Regions from separate parts of the Homo sapiens genome. Here region 1 is linked to region 2. The links are contacts of gene promoters, found by promoter capture Hi-C in blood cells and fetal thymus (Javierre and others, 2016). All regions are on one chromosome and are shown on one strand. Each heading gives the region's core, a stretch centred on a gene start or on the middle of the fragment in contact. The rest is flanking DNA. Distances are from core to core; before and after follow the strand shown.

What was found. The method cuts DNA at HindIII sites, captures the fragments that hold promoters and counts their contacts. A CHiCAGO score of 5 or more calls a contact.
Region 1: the fragment with the promoter of MANSC1 here is called in contact with the fragment with the promoter of CLEC2B in region 2 in 1 of 17 cell types (non-activated CD4 T cells); the score reaches 6.2 in non-activated CD4 T cells.

The regions. Positions count from the first base shown.
Region 1 is chr12:12,348,622-12,351,718 of GRCh38, reverse strand. MANSC1 (MANSC domain containing 1) reads left to right here and starts at 1,477. Exons shown (of 4, transcript NM_018050.4): 1 at 1,477-1,641. RefSeq lists a silencer at 1,167-1,476. The HindIII fragment of the contact is 5,175 bases long and covers 1-2,371 here.
Region 2 is chr12:9,868,104-9,870,942 of GRCh38, reverse strand. CLEC2B (C-type lectin domain family 2 member B) reads left to right here and starts at 1,589. Exons shown (of 5, transcript NM_005127.3): 1 at 1,589-1,738. The HindIII fragment of the contact is 5,556 bases long and covers 1,475-2,839 here.

The sequences.
Region 1 (3,097 bases), core at 228-2,727, 2.5 Mb before region 2:
CAAAAGAATTGCTATAACCCGGGAGGTGGAGGTTGCAGTGAGCCGAGATCACACCACTGCACTCCAGCCTGGGCAACACAGCGAGACTCCGTCTCTAAAAACAAACAAAACACAAAACAAAACAAAAAAAGAAACAGGTTCATTGTATTAAAGCACCGAATACGAAGTTTCTAATAATGGAAAGGTCTACTTTGTAACTAGCATGGATTACCCCATGTAGAGAGATTCAAAAACTGTGATAGCTCTACACCCTGAACCCTGAAGTGTATCAGATGATAAAAGATAAAACACACTTGCAGATCAGTCCCTTGTTGCATCAGGAAAATCACTGCAATGGGAAATTACTCTGGTGTTTACTTTTCTTTGGTAACTCTTTCAAACCTAGCTTTAGCAACATTGTAATTCAAGAGTCATCCTTTGGTTACAAGTAGAGTTAGTTTCACACAATGGACCTTTGTTCACAAGCATTCTCAGTCAACCTAATCCTCCTGTAGTTATTGGTTAAGACTAGGGTGTGTAGCTGTTGGCCGTACAGGCCTAGACTTAACTTGCAATTGCATAGCGCTTCAGGTCTGCAAGCTCTTTCAAAACAGAGGTGAAGATACTGTCAAAGGTTAGACCATATGGCAAACTAAGTGTCAATGGTTTAGTAACGTTGCATTTGTGTGTGTGTTTATGGAGGTGGGGATGGGGCCAGCAGTAATTTAGAAACTTCCACAACCTATGCCCTATGCAGTTCTTTTCCATTCATTCAGTCAACAAAAATATTTTAGTTAAATATTTACTGAGCACCTATTGTGTACCAGGCACTATGCTAAGTGTTAGGGATACAGTTTTAATATATGTTACAGACACCAGCATTTTCACCATTATTATCCTATCTACAAACAATAAATCCCGCAGAAAGCCAAATACCTTCCCTGAAGTTTGTCTTGCAGATAATATTTAACTCAAGAATTGCCATCTTTAATTGAGGACTCCATCCTCCAATTATGGAAAGAGGATTCTCAGAACTATGCCCCCAATAGGATGCACTATAAGCCCTTGAACATCAAAAAACTGCTCTCAGTGGTTGCCTCTGAGGAGGGAGACTAGGAGACTGGGGCACGGGGGTGAGGGGTAGACTTGTCTCTGTGTCTATTTTTGTACTGTTTGACATTTTCCCCATGTGCATTTATTTTAACTTGCGCGGGCCGCGAGGCAAGGCTCACCTGCAGACCCTCGGGCCACCAGCAGGGAGGCACGCACTCCCCCTCGCAGCGCGCCCAGCCCGGGGTCAGCGGTGTGGCTGAGCTGGGGGGGAGCGCGGGGCGGTGGGGGGAGCCACCTCCCTGCGGGGCTCAGCGCTGGGGCCGGGAGCCCGGAGCCTCCGCGGGGAGGGACGCGCTAATGTTGCCGGGAAGCAGCTCCGGGTTGCAGGGCAGGAACGTGCCCTTCCCCCGCGGCAAACTTGCCGTCGCTGCGACGGAAGCAGGAACTTGCTAACCACAAAACCCGCCAGGCCGGTGCGGGAGCTGCGGAGCATCCGCTGCGGTCCTCGCCGAGACCCCCGCGCGGATTCGCCGGTCCTTCCCGCGGGCGCGACAGAGCTGTCCTCGCACCTGGATGGCAGCAGGGGCGCCGGGGTCCTCTCGACGCCAGGTAAAGGGGTCTCCCCAATACCCACCCCCGACCGGCCGCAGGCGACGTCGCTACCTGCGGAGAGAGTCGGTCCCCTCCTTTCCAGGGGCCGAGGCTCCTTCACCCACACCCGAGCATCCAAAGGACCAGCTGGGGCCAATAAGGGCTGACCAGGATCCTTGAGTCGCTGCAGTATTCCAAAGGGGACCTCTAGGCGGGCTCAAGGCACCTGCCATAAATGGCTCTGGCTCTGCGTTGACATCAGAAGGAGAGGCAGAAGAATAGCTCAGTAGGCAACATGCATTTCCTCAAAGGAAGAGAAAATGTTCCCTGTTTTCTTGTCGTTGACTCTGTATTCATTATTGAAACTGCTAATTGTCTAATTCTCTGTAGAGTGTGTGTGTGTATACAGTTATAAGCATCTTGGTAAATTATAGTGTGCTGTAAGACGATTTCCAATATTTGAACTAATTACGTGCGAGTAAGTTTTAGCGACTCTTGTATGCAGACGTTAAAACTCAGGGGCATCCTCTCTCACCCGCCTGTATCCTTTTACCCCGTCTTTCAACAAGATTCAACTCGACTTCAGGCCCTTAAAGCCTAAATAATAATGGATTAGAAAACGTCGCTAACCTAATATTGCTGAGCCTCTTTAATGATATAAAACTCTTAAACACTTCTCTCAATGCTGCATACTGAAAACAACTCCTGCCCCATCTCCTTACATAGTTCAGGTTTCTTTGCAAAAGCTTGAAAAGAGGCTACATTAGAATCCATTCAAAATAAAGTATTGGCCTGGTTTTCTCTTGATTCCCTAGAGGCTTGCAAAATATGGCAGCGTATTAAGTACCTTGGCCAGAATTATTAACCTGGGGAGTCCACGATAAGGTATCCATGGATAGAATTCAGGATGTCTGTGAACTTGAGTGGAAAAAATTATTATTTCACCGACTTCTGAAATGGAATGTAGGCAAAAGCCACAGTAGTATTAGCAGTAGCTATGATTTGCCCCCTGTAAATATTGCCGATATCTTTATATCACATGACTTGTTGCACGTTTCAAAATATTATCTATACTCAATACCACGTCAAAATTATGGCAGTTATTAGATGACCACTTGTTACTTAATAGGTTAATAAAGAAGCACATATTATGTCCCACAACTTTTTGTAAGTTTTAACTAAAATGAGGATAATAATGGGATCTGTAAAGATTAAATGACATGATATATATAAAGTGCTTAGCATAGAAACTGGCATTTTAGACGCAATAAATGTTACTATTTTACTGTATACAGAATTTTGACAAACAGCAAGAAAAGTATTAGACTTGTGTTTTATTACCATATACTGGTTTGTTTCTGGGTTTTTTTTTTTTTTTGGTTTTACCTTTTTTTAAAACTAAAAGTCCATAGTTCACATAATGTTCACTCTGTGTGTTTTACATTTCTATGGGTTTTGACAGATGTTCAATAAC
Region 2 (2,839 bases), core at 340-2,839:
TTTTTGGAAAAAAATACATTTATAAAATAAAACATACATTTTCTATGTAACCTAGCAGTTTCACATCCAGGTATTTCTTCAAAAGATTAAAAAACGTGTCAATAGAAAAACTTTTGCATAAATGTTTATTTTGACCTTATGATATCCAAGAAGTGGAAAAAGCTCAATGTCATAATGGATACATTTTATTATAAAATAGATAAAAATATTTTATGTCTGTACAATGAAATACTACTCAGTAATAAAAAGAAATTAACTGCTGATCTGTGCAAAAACATGGATAAAACTCAAAAACATTATGCTCAGTGAAAGACATCAGACTTACAAGAATTGCCAACTGTATCATTCTGCTTAACAGGAATTTCTAAAACCAGCAAAGCTCATGTTTATTGACAGTAAGTTGGCTGCTGCCTGGCTTCAGGGGTGAGGATGAACTGCAAAGCAACAGCGGGGAACATTTCCCTGTGTTGAAAATGTTTTATATCTTAACTGTTGTATCTTGACTGTTTTCCTTTTTGGAACAAAACTAAATTTCACTCAACCATACTTGAGTAATCTCTATATTTTTCTATACATGCTTTTCTAATAGTTCTTTGGATACAATCTTTTGTTAACAACAAAGGTAGAATATATTCATTTCCTCATGAATTTTCTGTCTTTTTTTTCTGTCCAAAAATGAAAAGAGCAATTTTGTTATCTGTCCTTTCCTTCTGCCCAGAAATGATTAAACCTGTATTTCTTATTCTCTTCATATTTTCTTTGTTTTAATTCCTTTGTACTACAGTTTCTTCTCTATTCTCATTTGCTTTTCCTCTTCAAGTTTCTCTCTCAGAACAAATGCAGTGTTAATCCCGAAGCCGCTTGCGGGACACTGGCTTCTTCTCCTCAGTTTCCTCCCTAATATATTTGTTGAGGGGTAATACAAAATCACTGGGAAACTGATTAGAGCAGATTTGAAGACAAAATTGTGGCCTGGTAACTTAGCAAAAGCATAATGGTGTCATCTTGTATGCTGATGATAACGTTCTGGGCACTTTGTTACTTTCGTTTTCTTTTTTCCCTCTGTGTGTCTTTGTGTGTGTTTGTGTGTGTGCTCACACCCACACGTGTGACTTTGCACGCATTTGTCTTTGAGAGAGAGATAATAGTTTTTGTTTTTCTTTCAGTAGCCAAAGTTTAAACCATTGCTTTTTCTTTGATTCTATCGCTTTTAAGGTGATCTTTCTTAACACAGGATAAGAAAGCAGTAATGTCCTAAAGAATGCTGTTGAATTAATTAGTATCAGCCTCTCCTACAGTTCTGGAAGGATACGTGGTTAAGTACCACTCCTGGATGAATCAGAAAAACAGCCACTTGAGCAATTTCGTGTTCTGTGGTTCAGATGAGAATCCCAGTTGAGAAAGTAAGAAAATATGTGTTTATTCTTCAGCTTTAAATTGTTATATCACAAACTTCCTTCCTCCTTGGCAAGCTTTCTTTTTTGACGAGAAGAAAATTGTAATAAACAACAGTATGACTAATAGATAGTCACATGGTTACTTCCAGTTTGCAAAATGCTATTTATACTTTGAGTTACTCTTCAAAAGTGGTATACCTCTAGTTTGGAGCTGTGCTGTAAAAACAAGAGTAACATTTTTATATTAAAGTTAAATAAAGTTACAACTTTGAAGAGAGTTTCTGCAAGACATGACACAAAGCTGCTAGCAGAAAATCAAAACGCTGATTAAAAGAAGCACGGTAAGAACATTTTTGTTTGTTTAGAATGACCGTTATTTATTGAAATTGTGATGCAGAATGTTAAAGCCTTCGAGAAAAGAATTAAATTTTGTGGTTTCTTTTGTGAAACTAGAAAATTCCTTCTTATAACAAGATTGAGATTTGCATATGACTGTTTTGTCCTAATAAATTCAGACTTACTTTACATTATTTGAATTACAATGGAGAAGGATTAACCATGACTTAAAACTGCTCAAGATTTAGTTTCATTTTTACTAAGTATTTTATAAAACAAATACTTGAGAAGATGATAGATATGATCCAGATACTCATACAGTTCTCAGAATGCATACATAATATGATAAATTTAGCCAATAGTTCTAATATTTTTAAAGATTGCTTTATTGGATGGTGTAAAGATACTCCGGGCTTTAGGAGTACTTAACGGAAAGAATATATCCCTTTCCTACTCTTACTAAGGAATTGCTAGTACTCCGATATCCATGGAGATGTCTTTACCAACCCTAAGAAGGATAAGGAAAGAAAATGTTCTAAAAAATACACTATGAAACAACCTGGTAACATTGGATTTATTAAATAGCAAGTTCGGAATATATAAGATCCAAGCTACATCTTTGAGATTTCAACAGGGTTTATTTATGTCAAAATATTTGAAAGAGAAAAGGCTGAAACTAAATGCATTCAATACAACGATCTATGATTTAGAGATTTAGGGACTGTGATGAGCTTTAAGCATTTCCCGTTTAACTAAATGTCAACCTACCAGCGTATGCTACGGTCAAAAAAATTATTGCTGTGGTACAATAGAATGCACACTTTATCCTTCCTCCCGTATTTTAACCGGTTTTATAATTCTGCCTAAAGTTAGATAAAACAGGTTTGCGGGGAATGAGATCAATATTTGATGGTAGCATAAAATATCATTTTAATCAAAAGTTTTAAGAAGGCCTTCCAGCCACTAGTAAAACCAGTGTTATTTTCTACTTTCAATCAATTGTATAAATTTATACATTTGTATATAAATACATTATATAATACAATATTATATATCATATTACATATGAATATATTTTAAAAGTTACTGAATAATATATTCAGTAT